Regions from separate parts of the Homo sapiens genome. Here all the other regions are linked to region 5. Evidence: promoter capture Hi-C in 16 types of primary human blood cells and fetal thymus (Javierre and others, 2016). All regions are on one chromosome and are shown on one strand. The core of a region is centred on a gene start or on the middle of the fragment in contact, and the rest is flanking DNA. Distances in the headings are between cores, read along the strand shown. Region 1 has its middle 170 kb from the start of SATB1-AS1. Region 2 has its middle 140 kb from the start of SATB1-AS1. Region 3 has its middle 250 kb from the start of SATB1-AS1. Region 4 has its middle 190 kb from the start of SATB1-AS1. Region 5 holds the start of SATB1-AS1 (SATB1 antisense RNA 1). Region 6 has its middle 230 kb from the start of SATB1-AS1. Region 7 has its middle 210 kb from the start of SATB1-AS1.

Region 1 (3,116 bases), core at 545-3,044, 170 kb before region 5:
TACATCTAGGATGTACAATCAATGTCTCATATCTAAGAGAGTACACAGTGAGCTGACTCAACAACATTTATAGAACACCATGACACTATACAGAAACAAATTAAGCATGGGCCATACCCTTAAGGACAGCCTAAAGCCATGGACTGGCACTCGAGCTAGCTGCATGTTTAACTTTTGGCAAACTTGACATTTAAACCACAATGGTTTAGTGCCATAGACTTTCATAAGTACCTTAACCTTCATAATTTCATACTAAGAAAAATTGTATAAGTAAAGCTGTTTAGTTGCCTTGCACTTTAGTTTACTTGTAGGAAAAACACATGCCAGAAACTTCAGTGTTCAACCAAGTGGCCTTGATTGTTTCAGGTTTGTCATCAGAACTTGTCTAAGTTCCATTAATGAGTTAATGTGTGTAAGAAAAATATGCATGCACGTATACAAATGCAATCTTCTTTTTGGGGGGAGAGGAAAGATAGGTGTAGTCTTAACATCAACACCCTTGCACTACATTTATCACAGCTTTCCAAGAAATTTTGCACTGAATGAAATTTACAGCAGAGCCCTAAAATGAAAACTTGGTTCAGGCAATTTATGAGAGAATGAGAGAATGACAGAGTAGCTAATACTTCCTGATACCAATAAAGATGGTGTACCAAGGGAGTACAGAAGGTGATAAATGCTATCTAGATAAAAAAGAAAGAAATGTTAAGATTGCCCGTATCATCTTTGAAATGTTGCAATGGTATGATTCTCTATGTGTAATTAGAATTCTACTAGTAACTCTACTAATAGCCTCTGTATCACAAGATATTTCTACCCCCTGTGATGCTGTAAAAGACTTCATGGGAGGAAAGCATAACGATGGGGCGAGGGAGAGAAAGAAATAGCAATCAACAGTAAAAGTAGACAAACAAACTACATCCAACCAATACCGTTTACACAAAACACAGTGGCATTGGGTCGTTTTTTTTTTTTTTTTTTTTGAAGACTTGGTTTTGTCTCCTTTTTAATTATGAAGGATAAAATAAAATTGAGTGACTGAGAGGAATAAATAGATAATGAAGTATCAAGGGTTTTTATATAGAAGCTCCTTATTAAAATGACTGTCTCCTTCAACTGTTTAATCTAATTTCTGCAAGGCAGGTTTTCACTTGTTCTGCTCATATAAATGCACAGGTATTAGAGGTATTATTAAGACACTGTGTAGTTCACACCCAGAGCTTGAAGAACTACTTTAACCCCTTAAATGCTCAATGAAGCAACTCATTCACTACTGGCCTTCTACTCTTTTTCTGTTCCCTCCCCTCCATGGATGCTTATAATATCAACTGACTTCTGGAATGTATTTTAACACCATACATGTTCAAACTTATGTGCAATATCCACCATGTACTATAAAATTCCAACCAATAACATATCTTTATTTATCACTTCTATCCAGTGTCTTCATCTAGGTATTAGAAAATACATGAAAGTTAATTCAAAGTCTATCCTCAGGATGCTTGGAGCCATAGATCTATAACAAGAAAACTTATCTCACCCACTTACTTAGTAGCTCAAGTTACCGTACAATTTAATGTACCAGGACATTTCTGAGAATAAAAGGAGGCACTATTAATCATACAAGGACAACAAGCATAAACTAGGAACCTAGTCAAACCTGGGTAAATGATCATCCTATTTATGGGTGTACAAACCATAAAAGCTATAAAGGTTTAGAGAACAGAAACTTTACCATTTTCTCATAGGAAGCCCCATTTCCAATCTTGATGTCTTTTTTACATATGACTGCTGAAACATAAGGTATTCAGATGGAGTCACCTTTTCAATGCACATGGATTGCAAGTGTGGTTATACATTTTGTACAGGACCATAGTATGAGGACCAGGTACACAGGTGTAGTCTGGAGCTCAAACAATTTTTACTGTCTTCCATGAGTACTCTGTTTTTCCTCACCTCATCTTGCTCCTATTCCAGCCATATCTATCCTTGACTTTTTCTTCAAGGCCCAAATCAGATCATTCCTCTTACACAAGCATCTACGTATTAGGTAGAATCACCTTCCCCACACACACTGCTGGATCTGTATCTTCATTTGTTGGTTTCATCCATTTCCATCTTTGAGTACATATAGACATATCACTCATCCTAAACTTCTGGTTTGATGATATAGTAGCCAGCCTCCAATAAGTCTTCACTGATTTTCATCTTCTGATATGAATAACTTTAATGTAGTTTTATCCTTCCCTTACCCTACCAGATACACAATAATAGGGCTAACTAATGTTTATAACCAATGAAGTGTTGTCAAAATGACAGTGTGATTTTTTTTTTTTTTTTTTGAGACAGAGTCTCACTCTGTCGCCCAGGCTGGAGTTCAGTGGCGCAATCTCAGCTCACTGCAACCTCCACCTCCCAGGCTCAAGCAATTCTCCTGCCTCAGCCTCCGGAGTGGCTGGGACTACAGGCATGGGCTACCATGCCCGGCTGATTTATTATATTTTTAGTAGAGATGGGGTTTCACCATGTTGGCCAGGTTGGTCTCGAATTCCTGACCTCAGGTGATCTGCCTGCCTTGGCCTCCCAAAGTGCTGGATTACAGGTGTGAGCCACTGCGCCCAGCCCAGAGTGTGATTTCTGATGCTACTTCATACGGGGCATTGAGGCTCCCTTCCTGCTCTCTGTTGGCTCTGGGAGAAGCCAGTTTCCCTATCATGAGAACAATTAAGCACCCCTGTTCAGAGATCATGTGGGGCATAAATGAGGCTTCTGGCCAATAAACAGCACTAATTTCTCAGGAATACCAGTGAACCACCTTAGAAGTGGGTCTTCTAGCCTCAGTTGAGCCTACAGATGACTGTAGAAAGTCTGACCAAAAACTCGTGAGCCCCTGAGTCAGAAGTACCAACAGCAATGTGGATCCTGAATTTCTGACCTACTGACCCACAGAAACTGTAAGATAATAAATGCATATTTGAGCCACTGAGTTTTGGGATAACTAATTATGCAGCAATAGATAATATGATAAAAGCCAAAAATGTTTAGATATTTTCCCAGTACTTAGCATGGTCTCCAGCACAGAACAAGAACTCTATAAATATTTGTTGGATTGAAAT
Region 2 (3,234 bases), core at 250-2,749, 140 kb before region 5:
GCAGGTGGTACATTTTTAACTGGCAGTTGAATATTTGCTTGGCTTAAAGCCAAATGAAATAACATAATCCTAACTGACTGGTACACTTCTCCCTGATCTCTTTAAATTCCTCTTTTTCAAATTCTTTATGACATTTAAATATTCTTAGAATTCACCAATATTATAAAACAATGAGATGGTTATAAATGAAGACAGCTAGTAACAATAATCATAATAAAATGACTATCTTTTACTGAGGATTTAGAATGTTCTTAGACTTTCTGTGATCATTATATCCCATGAAAACTGTAAGAGGTATACTTCACTCCCATTTTAAAGATGAAGGCACTAAGATTAGGAAAAATTAAATAGTTTGTTCAAGGTTCTGGCAATAACTAGAGGGAAGACAAGATTCAAACTCAAATTTATTATTTGCTTGTGTATTTGTTTTGCTCCAAAGCCCATTTTTCTCTGCTATAGTCCCAATACTCAGGTTGTCTATATTCCCTTCCCTTGATTCCCTATCTTTATAAAGTGCTATCTAAAACTTTTTCAGGTTTTGTTGCTGGCTCCAGAGAGAATGCCACTGGAAAGTGACTGTTTCCAACTCTGCTGTTCACAGAATGGCTCCCACGTGGCTGGTGCTCAATCAGTGTTAAATAATAACAGCTCAACCCAGTAATGATAAAGCAGGAAGTGCCTCCCTCTTTATACTTTTAATGACTTCATAGGGTTCTTTTTTGTTAATTGTTTAATCACAAATTTCAGTTATTGCTATTTACATGCTCTTTTTCAACTTTTGAATACAGTCTTATTTCTATTTTGCCAAGCTTTCGGAAACACCAAATTAGAAACAAGCCTATTGTCTTTCACACAATTTCTGCGCTGTGAAGAATGAAAAACACCACCAGAGTGCCTGCGTGCCTAATAAGGGAAAAAGAAAGAAAGGAAAAGAAGCCATTGTAAGTTGTCTAAGGAATAATACCTTTAGGTCAAGTGCCCCAAAGGCCAAAAGTCACTCCTTCTATAATAGAAAATACACACATGCCACCTTCATAATGCTAACAGACAAACCAAAGAGGATAACTTTATACAGGTAGAAAATCGAATGGAAGTAAAGGAGTCATTGAATAAATGTAAAACAGATAGGCTTTTGTGGTGGTTTGAGTGATTGACCTCTTCTTCGAAGAAAAAAAAAATAGATTTAACACTCAGTCTTGGTGAGTGAAATTAGAGATTAAAAGAAAAAAAAATACCCTGCCTGGAGAATTAAGAAAAGGGTAAGTACATTAAGTTTGAGCCAGCATTGTTACCATTTTATGATAAGCCACCTGTACACACTATATAGCACTAAACGTTAGATGGCCTCCATGCCCTAAAACACTTGAAGTCGATGCTTATCTCAAAGAAGTGGAATTTTTAACCCCAAACTGAAAAATGTATATCCTTCTCATAAAACCTTTTTGACATTCAAATACTAAGACGACAGATAATTTAGACCCATTAATTACTAACTACACCAACTTTACTACTATTACATACCAACCTTGAAAATGAACAACAGCATATGTACTAGGAGAGTGAAAAGCCTTGAAAGAACGCTTGAGGAAATCCAACAGAAAGCCTTAAATACGTATTGCCAAAGGTGATTACGTTTGTTCCTGAGGAATGCCTTTTTGTTCCTAAACCTAGCAACCATCCAAGGAGTAAAGGGATTATTGGAAAAGTAAGAAAAGAGGAGAAGATATGAAATAGGTTTCAAACCGGGCAAGCCCCCTGAAAAATTCTGACTATACAGTGCTTCTTTGAATTTGTATATTTTTTACAACACACTTAAAATTTGAGTATTCTAAATAAAATCCAGATCATTAGGTTTCCTTTAGATATCAGAAGATCTGGAAAAGTGAGCATGTAATTCCACAGGGCAGTAAGCCGCTGGGCTGAGAAATGGTTACTGCCTTCCATCCCTTTCATGGGAAGGGCTTGTGCTCTTCAGTTTGCTGAACTCTCTATTACTGATACCCTGCCTTCTTACTTCACTTCCATCATCTGTATGGCACCTGCGAGCATTTTTAAGGCTTTTACCTTTGTCGTAAACATTGGAGAGGGAATACATGTGCTGTGTATTTGAACTTTTTTTTTCTAAAGTTTTTAGAATATTTATTTTTGGATGTGAATATGTGGAAACAAAAATACACTGAAAAGCTTCTATATTCATAGTTGAATGACGTGACTTTGATCCCACTTCAACCCTTAATTAGCTGAGCACTCTGAGGCAAACTATTTTAACCTCTTGGACCTGGATTTCTTTATTAGTAAAGTAAAGATGCCCTACTAAGTTACCTTTAGTGTTCCTTCCAGTTCTAGATGGCTGTGCCACTCATGTGGCTAAACCATGTGGGTTCAGGAGTCAACCTGATGTATACGTTACCTCCTGGCATGAGGGTGAGAGTGGATGGGGAAACCATCCTAATGACATCCTAATGACACCTTGTATGTGATGATAGAACGGTGATTTTAATCCCCTCTGAACAGTAAAATTCTAAGGGAAAGGAGTAGGAAATTTCCTTTTAATAGGACAGAAAATTGAGATATTTAATTTCAATTAAATACAAATAATAATTCTGTATGACAAAATCCTCCTGCTATAGGTTGAATTATATCCCCCTCCAAAAAAAATGATGTCATAAGTCCTAGCCCCTAGTATTTCAGAATATGACCCCATTTGGGAGTTGGGTATTCATAGAGATAATCAAGTTAAAATGAAGTAATTAGGGTGGGCCCTAATCCTGTAGCAGAGCTGTCCTTATATATAGGAGAACTGTAGCCACTGACAGACACATTCAGATGTAAAGACACAGGGAAGACACCATCTACAAGACAACAAATGCCAATGCTACCAGAAGCTAGAAGAGAGGCAGGAACAAATTCTCCCTCACAACCACGAAGGAACCAACCGTGATCTTGGACTTCTAGCCTCCAGAGCTGCGAGACAATAAATTTCTGTTGTTTAAGGCAACAAGCGTGTGGTACTTTGCTATGACAGCTCTACCAAACTAATATACCATCTTACATCCATTTTCTCCAGCTAACTAGAGGCATGGAATTGTTTTAGAGGGAAGGGGATAGTGAGGGTTAGTAGCAGGGTAGAAAGGAAATAATAGCCTCATGACCCCCACAGCAACATGATGCAGATCATCTTGATTTCTTCAATTGTACATTGCCAGGCTATAAACAAGGGTCAATGTTTACCGG
Region 3 (2,907 bases), core at 294-2,793, 250 kb before region 5:
CAAAACTGAAAATAAGAGAACTGATCCAAAGTCTCAATACTATTCAGTGAGATCCCTGGTCCCTCTCTCCCCACGTCATATAACCAGATGAACACTGTGCAGGAGACCAGAAATTTACTCTGTGAAAAAATTGAGACTGAGAATTTCCAGATTCAAAAACCTGTGGGGTGAAGCTTAAGAATAAAAATAAGGAGATTGAGATAAACCATAGGCACAAAATCCATCCACTAGCTCCCTTCTCCTACCAGGCACCAGAGTAAAAACACCTACCCACTACCCAATGCAATGAACGAAAAGTGATCCAAAGCAAGGTACTCACCATAAGGTTCTAGAAAGAACAAGTCACATATCAAAGACTGAAAGTCATGATGATTCTGGACTTCTTATTAACAATACTGGAAGGAGAAAGACAGTGAAACAATACCTTTAAAAATCTGGAGAATAATAACCTAACATAAATTTTGTGCTCTGTCAATCATCAATCATGTCTCAGAGTAGAATAAGCATGTCATCAGAAATAGAAAAAGTTGTAAAAAATAAACTTTCTATATTTCCTTTATACTTCCTCTATTTTCTTCTCCATCAAAACCAAGAGAACGCTTGAAAATAGTGCTACATCTAAAACAGAGCGTCACACTCAAGAGAGAAAAAAATTTTCATTGGATGAGAGTGAAGGGAAGTCCCAGGATAAGTGTGTTTGTCCTAAAGAAAAACATATCAGAATTAGAGAAACATGATGAAAGGTTCCCAGAGAGAGCCAAATACTATACAAACACAGTAAGAAAATTTTTAAAAAATTAAAAATAGATACAAACACCTGATTCATTTAACTAATGGAAAAAAGTACTGAGAGTAGTTGTACATTTTCATTGGCATGTTGAAAAAGAATTACTGATAGGTACAAGCAAAGCAAGAATGCAAGCATATTATACAATTATTTGCTTGAGAAAATAAACCTGATGAAAGAAAATTGAATTATGTGATACCTTTTGATCTTGTAGTGAAGAATATTTAGAAAAACACTAAAATGTAAATAATGATGAACATTGATTTGATACCTCTATAAGGGAGAAAGGAAGTACAGGACATAAATCCTCATCTATCACAGTATAAACTCAGTAAAAAATGTCTAAAATTGAAAAATCAGTAAATATATGTATAAACATGTTATCTGAAAATATGGAATTAAATGTAAAATAATGATTAAGGGGTGAAAGTAGTTGCCTTTGAGAGCAGGTGTATGGGTAGAGATGAGATAAAAGACTGTTGGCTTTTGTTATGAGCTTTATGGTTTATCTTTAAAAATTATATGTAAATGTAACAAAGAAAATTTGAGCAGCAATTTAAAAACTGCCACCTGATTCAGTGGCCTCAATGCTGACTATGAGGAAACTACACTAAGAGGTTCTTTTCTGCTTGCAGTGACAAGAAATCGAGTCTGAGAAAGCTAGGAACATAAGAAATTGCTCCCTTGAATGGAACCACTTTGAAAATATTTAGTGCAGGAGTGGGATTGTCATCAGGTCTTTGAAAAGGGCATATCCAGCATGACTTAGAGAAGAGGAGAGTGAAGCAAGATCAAGACAGAGCCATGAGTCCACTGGATTTAGGAACACCATTTGGTGGCCTTGGTGGCAGAGGACTTTAATGTGGTGGTAGAGGTGGGAAGCTGATCACTGTGGATAGACATGCAAATAAGAAGTAAGACAATAAGGATATACTCATTTAAAATAAATTGTAGGAAAGATCAAGCATGAAATAGAAGAGAATTTAAGGTCAAGTGACATAGTTTTGCTTGTTTGTTTGCTTATATATCTTTAATATGGAAGAGGCTTGAGCTTATTTCAATGCTGAGAGGGAGGAAAGATAAAAGGAGATTCTGGAGAGAAGATAACAGAAGGGGCTATTTTACAAGGTAAGAAGTGGTAAATTCCAGAACTGGGGGAAACAATTCCTTTTTAAGTAGTTTATAGCCATGGAAGGGTCTGATTACCTCTCTCTCACACACATTTTTTTCTCTCTCTCTCTCATATTTTCTCCTTTAATTTTGATTGTATCTTCAGTTTCCTAATCTGAATTTACCAATAATTTCTGTATCAGTATTGAATAGACTCAGCTAACAAAAGTGTCTATTCATACTAGTTATAAAGACTTTTGCTTCTGTCCTACCACAATGGAAAAATCTTAATTTAAAAAAAAATCTTTTTGCTAATGTTGAAATAAGGATAAGTCCTGTATTTTCTTTGCTATGCAATCAGCAAAGATTCTGAAACAATTCCAGACCTATGTTAGGTACTGACTAATATTATTAGATTATGAGAAGGTTGTTAGTAACACAGCCATTTAAAAACAGAAAAGTCTCATCAGAAACAGGAGCTCTATTTGTACTGAGATCTCCAGATGACAAGCCATTTGATTTTGAAATGTGATGAATCAATTTTTGACAAAGATAAGGTAGACATATCCTGGTAGAATACTGGTTGATTTCTACTGTAGAGTAATCAAGTTGACAACACCTAAGTCAATGACACTCAAACTTTTCCTTTTCTGATTGCCCACTACCATCACCATCATTTTCCTGTAAGTCTTTCCTTAGCCTTTCTCCCAATCACAGTTAATGGCATCTCCCAAAAATGCAACCATACAAAAATTTTACTAGATATTACCTCCAAAAGTCCATGGATAACTTCAAAATCCTTATCTATTTTTCATAGCAGATCTTAAGAACTGAAAAGAAGAAAATATAGAGGACAAATGGAATCAAATTGTACTATCCACGCATGGTACCATCTAAAACATTATGTGGCTGCTTTACCCTTGATCTTATGGCCCGCTGAAATTCCCTAATAGGCTCCTTAATTTTTTCCCTTTAATTTTTAAATCTATTCAAATACTAAAACCTTGCAA
Region 4 (3,056 bases), core at 52-2,551, 200 kb before region 5:
ATATTGAAATTAGGCAAATCAATAATCCTATAATGGCCTTTAAGTGTTAAAGTAAAAGGAAGAGTTACCCATCTTCCACTTTAAGTCAAAAGCTAAAAATGATCAAGCTTAGTGAGGAAAGTATGTTGAAATCCAAGAGAGGCCAAAAGCTGGGTCTCTTGTGCCACAAGGTTAACTAAGTTGTGAATGTAAGGAAAAAATTCTTGAAGAAAATTAAAAGTGCTATACCAGTGAACACAAGAATGATAAGAAGCAAAACAGCCTTACTGCTGATCTGGAGAATATTTTAGTGATATGGATAGAAGATCAAGCCAGCCACGTTTCCTTAATGGCCAAAGCCTAATCCAAAGCAGTATTCAAACTCTCTTTATTTCTATTAAGGATGAGGGAGATGGGAAAGCTACAGAAGAGTTTAAAGCTGACAGAGGTTGGTTCATAAAGTTTAAGGAAAGAGGCCATCTCTATAACATAAAAGTACAAGATGGAGCAGCAAGTGCTGATGGAGAAGCTGCAGCATGTTATCCAAAAGATGTAGCTAAGATAATTAATGAAGACGGCTGCATTAGACAACAGATTTTCAAAGCAGATGAAACAGCCTTCTATCAGAAGTTGCCATCTAGGACTTTCATAGCTTAAGAGGAGAATTTAATGCCTGGCTTCGAAGTTTCAGAAGACAGGCTAGCTCTCTTGTTAGGGCCTAATGCAACTGGTGATTTTAAGTTGAAGCAAATGCTCATTTACCATTCCTAAAATCATAAGGCACTTAAGAAATATGCTAAACAGGCTCACCTGTGCTCTATAAATGGAACAACAAAGCCTCTATGATAGCACATTGGTTTACAGCATGGTTTACTGAATATTTTAAGCCCACTGTTGGGAACTACTGGTCAGAAAAAGGAAGATTCTTTTCAAAATAGTACTGCTCATTGACAATGCAGCTAGTCACCCAGGAGCTCTGGTGAAGATGTAGAAGGATTTTAATGTGGTTTCCATGCCTACTAACATAACTTCCATTCTGCAGGCCATGGATCAAAAAGTAATTTCAATTTTCAAGTCTTATTATTGAAGAAACACATTTTGTAGGGTTCCTTGGGGTGGTTGTTGCAATTTCTTAAAATAAGACAATAATAAAGTTTAAATAGGTCCCAAAGACAATGTTCACCTGATCCATCTGAGCAAAATAAATTAAAAACTTCTGGAAAGGACTCACCATTCTAGGTACTACTAAGAACATTTGTGATTCAGGAGAAGCAGTCAAAATATCAACATTCACAGGAGTTTGAAAAAGTTTATTTCAGTCCTCATGGATGACTTGGAGGGGTTCAAGACCAAGACTTCAGTGGAAAAAATAACTGCATGCAAATGGTGTGGAAATTGCAAGAGAACTAGAATTAGAAGTGGAGCCTGAAGATGTGACTGAATTGCTGCAATCTCATGATAAAACTTAAATAGATGAGGAGATGCTTCTTATGGATGAGAAAACAAAGTGGTTTCTTGAGATGGGATCTACTCCTGGTGAAGATCCTGTGAAGATTGTTGAAATGAAAGCAAAGGATTTAAAATATTATGTAAACTTAGTAGATAAAGCAGCAGCATGGTTTAAGAGGATTGACTCTAATTTTGAAAGAAATTCTACTGTAGGTTAAATGCTATCAAACAGCATTGCATGCTACAGAGAAATCTTTTATGAAAGGAAGAGTCAATTGATGCAGCACATTTTATTGTTCTCTTATTTTAAGAAATTGTGACAGTCACCCAAACTCCAGCTAACACCACCCTGATTAGTCAGAAGCCATCAACACTAAGGCAAGACCCTCCATAAGCAAAACGATTACAACTTGCTGAAGGATAAGATGATCATTAGCATTTTTTAACAATAAAGTACTTTAAATTAAGGAATGTACATTGATTTTTTAGACATAATGGTATTGCACACTTAACAGACTACAATACAGAGTAAACATAACTTTTATATGTATGGGAAGCCAAAAAACTTGTGTGACTTAATGGCAATATTCATTTTATTTCTGTGGTCTAAAACTGAACCTACAATATTTCTGAGGTATGCCTGTACATTGTAGACACTCAGTAAATATTTGTGAACGACATCAAAATGTTGGAATATGACCCTGGCTCTATCATTGTGTGATGTTGACCATTTAATCTTTTACAGCCTCAACTTTTGAAAATATAAAATGGAAAAAGCAATGTTTATGCTACCTGTTTTAAGGAATATCTCATAATAACATAAGACAACAAAAAAACACCACATTTACTGAGCTGTTAATAAGTACCATATTAAGCTAAGTGCTTTATGTCCTACTCTTCATTTAATCCTCACAAACCTACATTATTTCCCTTTTGTCAGATAAGGAAACCAAGCACCTAGAGAGCTTAAATAGCTTAGGTCCCATGGTAAAAGACAGAAGCAAGATTCAAACTCCAGAGCCTGCTTAGTTAATCACTACATATGGCTTAATTTTCCCCAAGCTTGGAAATTGAAATGAGCTGCTGCAAAATTTGTTTGTCTTTTATAAATCATGGGATAACTTGTTCTATATGACCAACAACTTCTTTGTACTTAGCTGTCCAATCCTCTGAACCTTCAGCCACCATCATTGGGGAACAGGAAGACATGGATGATAAATCACATAAGGTCTTTTGGGTAGTGGGTAATTGCTGGTGAGCTAATGTAAAGAAGGGGAAATACTTATTAGAAAAGTACTAGATTGTTCCTAGAACTAAGGAAGAGTTAAATAATGCCTTGGGATGAAAGCAGACCTGTGCAACAGGACATTCACAATGAAACAATAGCTCCAAAGCATCTTCCTCTAAGTAGCTCAACTAATACTTTAAATTTCTTGGAAAGAGAATACCTTTTCTCCTCTTGCAGCAGGCATTTCTGCCTTTATATTTAAAATCTATGGCCATGGAACAAAACTAGTGGCAATTGTACAATCACAGATGAAATTAAACCATAAAGCAGGTAGCCACTTCAGTGGATCTACATAAGTGGAATGCTTCATTTCCAAGCCATGTTCTGTCTCCAACTGACT
Region 5 (3,051 bases), core at 259-2,758:
TATCAGGATTTTCCCAGCGTGCTTTATTCATAGCCATCTGACACAACAGGACCTAACAGAGCTTTTAGGAAAAACTGAATTCTCAGCCCACAATCACTTTCCAGGAACTTCCCTGCAAACAGTGCTGTGCGCTGGCAGGATGGAAATCTTAGCAATCTCCCTCCTGCTTCCATAGTTTCCTCCTCTCTAAATAAAATTATTTATGGGGACTTAATGAGAGAGCAAGCCTTGTGTGAAAGGAATTCAAGAAAGTGCGGCTTCTAAAAATACACCTAGGCAGCTCTACAGTCCTTATTGTTACAACCTGACGTTTTGCAGTTCATGCCATGAACCTAACTACACTTCTTGCCAAATACACACAAGCGTACAAAGAAGAGGAAAAGTAAAAACTATGTTACTATGTTTTATCTTTCTGCAATCCCTTTGAGTAAACAGTAGTAATTTTCTGTTGACATACTCAATGCAAATTTCCCAAAGGCTACACAATACAAAACAAAAGACCTGTTAGCTTCCTCAGAGCTGGGGGGAGGAGAGGCAGGGGGAGAGAAATAAAGTTGATGGAGCTCCAGTTTCTCCTAAGCCTGCAGTCCTGAGCCTCCAGTCACCCTAGTCTTTTTGTAGAGATTTTTTGAGTTTCAGTCTCCACTTGGGAAGGTTCCTTGGCCCCTTCTCTCCCAATGTCAATAAAACCCTCATCTCTCCCGCTTTGCCCCCAGCTTTTTGGGGAAATTGGACCTTGCCTAGGCGTCTTGTTCCAGTGGGTTGAAAAGTACAGCTGGTGATGTGAGGATAAATATTTAAACTAATGGGCTGGGTCACAGCGTGGGGGTCTTCAAGAGAGGGCCTCCTCCTCCTTCCGCCACGTGCTCCTCACTTGGGGTGCAGGGCTCCTGGACAAGGGGCTAAGACGGACGAGGGTGGGATGAAGGGAGATGGACAGACCAGACTGTAAGTGAAGGAGGCCCTCTAGGAAACATCGTCTCGACCGAACATTGACGGAGAAAAAAAAAATGGCCCAAATGCCCCTAGTGGGGAAGCATACACCCCACGCAGGCTGGGTTGGGGTGGGGGTGCTTCGCGGCCTCTCACCTGACTTCCTCCTCCGCCTGCACACACACTACAGTAACCCCCTCTACTCACCCCCCAAAACCCAGCCAAACAACAAGCAACAAGAGGAAGCCGCAGGCGACAAGAGGAGGAGTGCGCGTGTTGGGGGCCCCCGGAGAGGTGAGGGGGCAGGGTTGGCGGGCGACGAGAACCGCGCCGCGCACCCCAAGCGCACCCCCAAGCGCCCACACTTACCCCTCGAGGCTGAGGGTCCTGTCTTCCGCGCCAACCCCCGTGTGCGCCCCCTGGCCCGCCCTCGCCCCTCCGGCCCGCCGCCCCCCACACCCCGGCCGGCGCGCTGGGAGGGAGCCCGGGAGCGGTGCGCAGCAGCGGCGGCGGCGGCGGCGGCTCGGGCTCGGCTCGGCTCGGGCTTCAGTGCGCCTAGTGTCGCCAGCGGCCGCCGAGGCTCCCACCGCCAGGGGGAGAAGCCGGGCGGGCGCTGGGGAGGCGGGCCGGGCCCTGGCCGCCCCGCTGGCCAGCCCGCGCCGCACAAGCTCCGAAGCGGCGGCTACGCGGGGTCCGCCGAGCCCCCGGGCGCAGCGTGCCCGGTCCGAAGCGCCACGTCTGGATGCGCGTCCCGGGTGGCTGCGGGCTCCCGCGGGGGACGCCCCGGCCGCTCCGGTGCGCCTCCAGACTGCAGGCGCCGCGACCGACGAGACGAGAGCAGCTCCCGCCGGCCCCTTCCCCCTCCCGCCCCCGCCGCCGCCCCCTCCCCCTTCTCCCCCCCCCGCCCGTTAACATCTCCTCCCTCCCCCTCCTTCTCTTCCTTCCCTTGGCCCCGCGCGCTCGCTCGCTCGCTCCTCGCCTCGCTCTCCCCTTTAAACGCCCACTTCGTATGGGGAAAGAGGACAACTTGAAGTCAAGTTGCAATTAACTTCCGCGGCAGCCGCAGCTCCGGCGGCGGCGGCGGCGGCAGGAGAGGCAGAAGCCGCCGCCTCGGAAGTCCGACGCCGGCGCGCCCGCCCGGGGAGCCGTTCTTGGTTTCAGGCCCGCACTCGACAGCCACCGCCGCCCCCAACGTCCATGCCTGAGTGAGTTCTGCTCTTTTGCCTCCCTTTTCCCCTTGCTACTCTTGCTGTTTTATCTCTGTCCCTCTTTTTCCGGAATCAATCCAAACTTCTCCGTAGCACCCACTCCTCGTCCCCTATTGGGGCGGCTGGGCTCCCCTCTCGTGGGCGCAGGGCTTCAACGGTCTTCCGAGCCCCTTTTCTCACGCAGACGGACCTTGGAGGGGTGGGCTGGTAGAGTAGGGGAGAGCGGTCGGGATGGGGGATTTGAAGATGCCATTCGTTTTCTGTCTGGGTGTGGACACACCACCACACCTGCCCAATAGACCCTGGCTGAACAAACTCCTTCAGGTCACCGGTATGGCCCCTTTTAGAAAAGGAAAGGGGAGTGGAAAAGACCGAAGGAAGCAAATGGGGAAAAGGGGAGCCTCTCGGTGCGTTCTGGAGCCGGGCGGGCAGTAAGGTGCCTGGAGGAGTGGGCTGCGGGAGTGGTAATGTTCCCCCACCGGATCGCGAGTCTGCTCAGCATCCTTTCCCGGTCCATCTCCGCCTCCCTCCGCTCCCTGCCTGCGCGGCTGATTGTAAGCATCGGCGAAGAGGGGCCTGGGAAGTTTGTGGCAACTTCTGCATCCCGGGAGCTACTCGGGCGCCGGGGCGCTCAAGTTGGAGCCCGGAGTTTGAAAGCCGCGGCACTCCTCATTTCGAGCCCTCGCTGGCTGTAGCGAGGCCGGTCCTGGAGAGGCTGCTGGCGTGAATGTGGGTTTGGAGTTGGGCAAGAGGCAGAAGAAAGGGCCGTCCTCTTAGCAGGGGCCGGGACATCACAGGTGCAGCCTCGCAGTCCACACCGTGTTTCCCTCCTGCTGTCCAGACCCGAGCGCGGTGGCCTTTTCCTATTGCTCCAGTGCTAAGGCTCCCGGGCCGGCAGAACCGGGGTTTG
Region 6 (2,778 bases), core at 30-2,529, 230 kb before region 5:
CTTAAAGGCCATTGTGAGGACTTTGATTCTGAAGGAAACAGAGACCCTTTTGTAGAGTTTTAAGAAGGCAGTGATGTAATCCAATTGATGCTTTTGGAAAATCCTTTGACTGCTGTATTGAAATTTTTTCAACTGGGAGGACACAGGATAGTAGTGGAACAACTGGTTTAGAGGCAGAATATGGAAGAGGAGTAAAGCAACCAAAAAACGGTAGAATGATGAGAAGTTGTAAAAATGTAGATCTAAGTTAAAAGTAAAGCTCATAAGATTTCCTGATGTATTGAATATTACATGTAAAAGATAGGGGAGAGAATGAAGATCTCTAGATTTTGTGGCTGGGCAACTGGAAGAATGGAATTGCCATTAGCTTGAATGAAGAAGACTATGGGTTGAGCAAGTTTCAGGGCAGCGAGATTAGGAACTAAGTTAGGCAAAACCAGTTTCAGAGGTCTATTAAACACTCAAGAAAAGATGTCCAATGTACAATTGGATCTATGAGACTAGGGCTCAAAAAAGATATCTGAATTGGGTATTTCAACTCTGGAGTCATCAGCATTCAGAAATATCTAAAGCCATGGGACTGGATAAAATCAACAGGCAAGTGAGTAGAGCTAGAGAGAGAAGATGACCACAGATCAGGAGAACAGATAAGTAACCAGTGAAGGAGGAAAGAATTCAAGGGAACACCCCTGGAAGCCAAATCAAGAAAGCATATCTATAAGAAAGGAGGGAGCAGTGACTACAAATGCTGCCAGTAGGTTGTATAGGAAGAAAAGGACTGAGAACTGATTTGGATACATAAAGATCATTGTTAATTTGATAAGAGCAGTTTTGCTGGAATGGTGATGGGGGTGGAGGATGCCTAACTATGCCAAGTTTAAAAAACAATAATAAGAGAAATTTTTGAGAAAATAAGAATAGATGCCTTTATCAAGAAGTTTTGCTGAAAATGAAAAAAAAAGGAATGATAAATTCTGTGAAAAGTAGAGTCAAATGAAGGCTTTTTGAGGTGGATGAAATTAAAGCATGATTCAGTGTTGACATTATATATGTTAAGCCCCTGTAAAAAGGCTTGCCCCATGGCAGCTAGCGTTATCTATATTCCCTATGTACCAGTTCCTTTTTTTTTTTTTTTAGACAGAGTTTCTGTCTGTCACCCAGGCTGTAGTGCAGTGGTGCTATCTCAGCTTACTGCAAGCTCTGCCTCCTGGGTTCACGCCATTCTCCTGCCTCAGCCTCCTGATTAGCTGGGACTACAGGCACCCGCCACCACACCTGGCTACTTTTTTTTTTTTTTTGTATTTTTTAGTAGAGACGGGGTTTCACCGTGTTAGCCAGGATGGTCTTGATCTCCTGACCTCGTAATCTGCCCGCCTCGGCCTCCCAAAAAGCTGGGATTACAGGCATGAGCCACCTCAGCCGGCCTGTACCAGTTCTTAAACTGAATAACCCTGGCTATCAAAAAGTATTTATGTATTGATACTTTCCAACATACAAGTACCTGTGAATATAAGTGACAAGATTGGCCTATGCCTGAAAGGGATGGGAAAACTCAACTGGAAAGAAAAGTCTTTCCCTGATTTGGAAATCTCTACACTACATTCAAGACAATCACACTATTTAAAGGAAAAATACTAAGAAGATTACCATGTTTTTTTGTAACCTCTTTGGAGCTATCACTTTTGCATCAAGAGACACATGATCTTCCTGAAACAACTCATTCTGTTATTTATAAAACAAAACATATTTTCTCAGAGATATAATGTCATAGTGATGCTTATATCCTTAGCTTAAGACTTCTAGCACTCTTCAAATCTATTCAATTCACAGTACAATTGGAACACTATGGAATGAAGAAGAAGGGAAAGACTAGAAGAAAGGTTAGATCAAGAGGAAAAATAATGTGATTAAGTAAGGAGAAGAGTTCCATACAGGTGACAGTAGGTGATTCAGCTAAATGGGAAGGACCAAGTAATTTCCATTACAATTATTGAAGTTTATATAGAATTTGGTGGTGTTTGTTTTGTCCAATCTCAGTTTTTTGATAGTTGCACCTTGATTTTTCCCTTGAAAACTATCTTTCCATTATCGCCAACAGATTTGGTGGAATGTAGATCTAGTTGCCGTGCCCTCTCCTTGACAAGCTGTAAGCAAAAACCCAAGCTGAAATAATGAACTCTTCATCTTAAAGGAAGTGGCAACAGGAAAGAAGAGTTGTCACTGTCTCCTTTCCATGAGAATTCCCTTAAGAGATAGTCTACTGGGTCCAACTTCCCAAATGCAGGGCTCATCTTGAGTCAATATACTCTGCTATGACTGTACTCATTTTTCACATAGGTATCCATTCCATTTGGTCAGTATCTGCACTGTACCTGTTGTTAAGTATTTTGTGTATAACATCTACATTGCCCTGGCCTCTGTCAATTTCAAGGCTCAGTTCTTCAGCTCTTCCTTTATATCTGTGAGTTATCACACATCTTAAAAATGAATTTCCTTCCACTCCTTTTTTCCTTTTGAAGTCAGGTACAGCTACTTGCAACCAAAGAATGCTAGAAATAGAGTGAACTAGTCTGGAAACCTGACTGTTACTGAAGACTTTCAAAATGACCTATTTTTAACATACCCTTTCCTAGGCTGAGACCTGTCCTTGTGTGCAACTTTACTCCTTTCACTACTTTTACACACTGACTTCATAAGATCTCTCACTATTTGATAACACTGGAATTTCTGCTTCTCCTACTCACCAAGTCCTCAATGGCACAAGAACAGATTAATGCT
Region 7 (2,943 bases), core at 315-2,814, 210 kb before region 5:
GGCAACAAAAAACATTGATCTTAATAAAGCTGTCTGATAAAAGGAGCAGTGATTAACATCCCAAACCCTCCATTCTGCTACTCATGCCAAGGTCCCTTTTTTTTTTTCCAGGAATGAAATTCCACTGCACTTCCTGCTTATCGCTTCATCTCACCTCAGCCTTCTCTGACTCTCCAGATAAGGCTGCAGACAGCCCAAGGAGGGGGTGGGGAGTAGGGAGTACCAGTGGGAGCCCACACTGGTGGCTGCAGGTGGCAGTTGCTGAGAAAGAAAAGCACAGCACAGTGAATTCCCAGAGTCTGAACCCCTTCCAAAGCCAACACCCATTCCTTCCAGAACTCAGAGGCATCTCTTCTTTTAGTGGGTCTTGAAAGACTGAGTGACTCTTGCTAATCCTGACAGCATCATCAAAGGTGTGGAGGAAGCTCCAGAGCATGCTCAAAGTCAGCAGAACCACTCTCAAATGGTATCAGGAAGCAGAAGAGGGCAGGAAGCAGAAACCCACAGATAATCCCCAAATCTCATGACAGCCGCTCCTTGTGACAAGCTGCTCCACCACATCTCTCATCCAAGCGACTAACAAGCAAATGGGCAGATTGGGATTTTACCTGCCTTCTGTCTTCCTCTGCACCACTACCACCAAATGATAAAAATTAGCATTTCTTGAGGTACTTTTTTAAAATGACGATTAAAAATTGTATATGTTTTTCATGTACAACAAGTTATTTTAAAGTATGTGTACGTTGTAGAATGGCTAAAGCAAGCTATCTTGAGGTCTTACTATGTGCCAGACATTAGCGCACTTCATAGCTACTTTTTCGTTAATCCTCACCACAAAGCTATGAACTAGGTATCATTATTCCCATTTTACAGTTAAATAGTTCTCTTAATGTTAAATTTAAAAATTGCAATATGATGGAGGCAAGACTGATTTCTGGTACATTCTAGCATCATATACCCTGCCCATTCAAACCATGTCATTATCTGTCTGAAGCTCTTAGTAAAGAATAAAAATACCCAAAATGAGGGCACTCAGAAGAGAGACAGAATGAGGTAGAATAAGAGGGGGAAAAAAAGGCATGTTTCAGCCACAGTTAATACTGAAGCAATCATGTTTTAACTCATTATCAAGAAATCTAGCTCCTTTTTTATTTCAGTCTTCACAAAGGAAAGCCCCAGTAAGTGGATAATCATTAATATTTCATTGAATACCAATCCATATTTTCCACAATCGTGACATGGACATTCCACTTCATCAGGAAGCCATTTTACAAAATTAGAAAAAGCAAGGCACCGTTCTGGAAAGCACAAGGCGAGACTACTTATCATTATTATTTATTACTTACTGGGTGCCAACTGGGTCCCTACTGTAGAGAAAAAGTTATAAAAGCCTCATGCAGAGGCAAGTGGTCCCCGTTCACTAGGTTCACAATTCAATTCTGATTTCATGACTACGACGGGCCCTGTGTCTTTAATTACTGGTAACTGTGACTGCCCTGGAACCACAAAAGGAAGATCAAAACTTTCTATCACTTTCTAGACATAAAGATAAATGAGAAGGGAAGCAATAAGTATAATTAATTTTAACCAGAGCTGGGAGAGGAAAACTTTCAGCTGTGGTACCATACATAGCATTTTATCAGAAGAGCCACTCTCCTAGCAGAGTCCCTACCACTGATTCCCAGATATGAAATAGACTGCCATTTCAAAAAGAACCAGGAGTGGAAAACCAATGTCACATGGTTTTCATGGCATTAGTTCAGCTCCAAGTGTCAGAAATAAGCATGTGATTTAACTGTACATGTGGCCCAGGAAAAGCAGGAGGAGTAAAGCTAGCAAGTTCAAAGCAAAGTTCAAATTGAAGCCATTCAGAGTGAGGCCACATCATAAGCCTTTGGACAGATGAGCATCTTGTGGGATTCAAGCAGAAGATGTGGTGTAAGTAATGAGACTGAAGTGATGAAGGAAGGGGAAATACACTCTCAGAGGTAAACTTGCCGTCAAGTCGTTGGGACTTAGCTGAATAATTCCCCCTAATGCTTAGACAAATAATGCTGCTAAATTCTTGGGAATCAGACCACCATGTCTCCACCCCTCAGCTTCCAGGAGCTTCTAAAAACCGGACTGAGCTAGCTGTAGGAAAAAATTAAATCCAAAATACATTCTTCATGATCATTTCAGAGAAGGGAGATACTCCCTAACTGTCAATACTGTGAGAAAAGGGGCTATACTTGACTCAGTTTTCCAAATCTGGACGGCAATCTCAGATGTTTTGAAGGAAGGCCAGAGATCTTCCTTGTGAAAAGGTTTTACTGGCTTTGCTTCTGCCACCAACTAACAGCAAATATTCTGAAATCCAGTCCCTATCCTGGTTCCTCAGCCACCCTCCTCCAATATCATCAGCAGTTGGAGCCTTTGCCATTGCCAAGAATTTCAGCTGTCTTTTATGTAATGTTTTCTACTTCTACCAACTCTTATGCAAGATTCTGCAAATCCTCAGCTTTAGCTAAAGAGTGCTGTCCAGCAGGACTTTTTGTGATGATGGAAATGCTCTACATCAGCACTGTCCTATATGGTAGCCACCTGCCACATGGGGCGAGTGCTATGGGATAAATAATGTGTTAAGTTTATTCAATTTTTAATGAATTTAAATTTAAATTGCCACATGTGACTATTGACTGCTATACTGTGCAGTACAGTTCTAAAGACACAATGTGGATTTTACCAAAGATGTAATAGCATAAATGGAAGAAGTTTATATTGCACATACCACAGAATTCTCTTCCCCAAGCTCCCTTGCTGCTAGTTGTGTCCATACAACACAATTCTGTCCAATACAAAGAGAGCCGAGAGTTACTGGGAGAGTTTATTTCTTATATGGAACCCAATTTCTTATTCACCCCTTTTGCTTTTCTTCTTTGTGTGTGTGTACATGATAATCTG

The links. Contacts are between HindIII fragments. The CHiCAGO score rates a contact against its expected background, and 5 or more counts as called.
Region 1: a contact is called between a fragment that was not itself captured here and the fragment with the promoter of SATB1-AS1 in region 5, in 1 of 17 cell types (activated CD4 T cells). The highest score is 6.4, in activated CD4 T cells.
Region 2: a fragment that was not itself captured here is called in contact with the fragment with the promoter of SATB1-AS1 in region 5 in 1 of 17 cell types (activated CD4 T cells); the score reaches 5.1 in activated CD4 T cells.
Region 3: a contact is called between a fragment that was not itself captured here and the fragment with the promoter of SATB1-AS1 in region 5, in 3 of 17 cell types (activated CD4 T cells, naive CD4 T cells and total CD4 T cells). The highest score is 7.9, in activated CD4 T cells.
Region 4: a contact is called between a fragment that was not itself captured here and the fragment with the promoter of SATB1-AS1 in region 5, in 2 of 17 cell types (activated CD4 T cells and total CD4 T cells). The highest score is 8.2, in activated CD4 T cells.
Region 6: a contact is called between a fragment that was not itself captured here and the fragment with the promoter of SATB1-AS1 in region 5, in 7 of 17 cell types (activated CD4 T cells, naive CD4 T cells, total CD4 T cells and 4 more). The highest score is 14.3, in activated CD4 T cells.
Region 7: a fragment that was not itself captured here is called in contact with the fragment with the promoter of SATB1-AS1 in region 5 in 6 of 17 cell types (activated CD4 T cells, naive CD4 T cells, non-activated CD4 T cells and 3 more); the score reaches 11.3 in activated CD4 T cells.

What each region holds. Positions count from the first base shown.
Region 1 is chr3:18,614,630-18,617,745 of GRCh38, reverse strand. No RefSeq gene overlaps it. Among named protein-coding and RNA genes, the nearest start is that of SATB1-AS1, 170 kb to the right of the region's middle. The HindIII fragment of the contact is 5,486 bases long and covers 1-3,116 here.
Region 2 is chr3:18,587,454-18,590,687 of GRCh38, reverse strand. No RefSeq gene overlaps it. Among named protein-coding and RNA genes, the nearest start is that of SATB1-AS1, 140 kb to the right of the region's middle. The HindIII fragment of the contact is 1,375 bases long and covers 812-2,186 here.
Region 3 is chr3:18,695,388-18,698,294 of GRCh38, reverse strand. No RefSeq gene overlaps it. Among named protein-coding and RNA genes, the nearest start is that of SATB1-AS1, 250 kb to the right of the region's middle. The HindIII fragment of the contact is 2,735 bases long and covers 176-2,907 here.
Region 4 is chr3:18,638,643-18,641,698 of GRCh38, reverse strand. No RefSeq gene overlaps it. Among named protein-coding and RNA genes, the nearest start is that of SATB1-AS1, 190 kb to the right of the region's middle. The HindIII fragment of the contact is 2,383 bases long and covers 110-2,492 here.
Region 5 is chr3:18,443,694-18,446,744 of GRCh38, reverse strand. SATB1-AS1 (SATB1 antisense RNA 1) reads right to left here and starts at 1,508. Exons shown (of 7, transcript NR_125803.1): 1 at 1,303-1,508. It also overlaps a transcript of SATB1 not described here. RefSeq lists a silencer at 1,383-1,602. The HindIII fragment of the contact is 8,267 bases long and covers 1-3,051 here.
Region 6 is chr3:18,675,204-18,677,981 of GRCh38, reverse strand. No RefSeq gene overlaps it. Among named protein-coding and RNA genes, the nearest start is that of SATB1-AS1, 230 kb to the right of the region's middle. The HindIII fragment of the contact is 4,732 bases long and covers 1-2,778 here.
Region 7 is chr3:18,655,562-18,658,504 of GRCh38, reverse strand. No RefSeq gene overlaps it. Among named protein-coding and RNA genes, the nearest start is that of SATB1-AS1, 210 kb to the right of the region's middle. The HindIII fragment of the contact is 3,888 bases long and covers 1-2,943 here.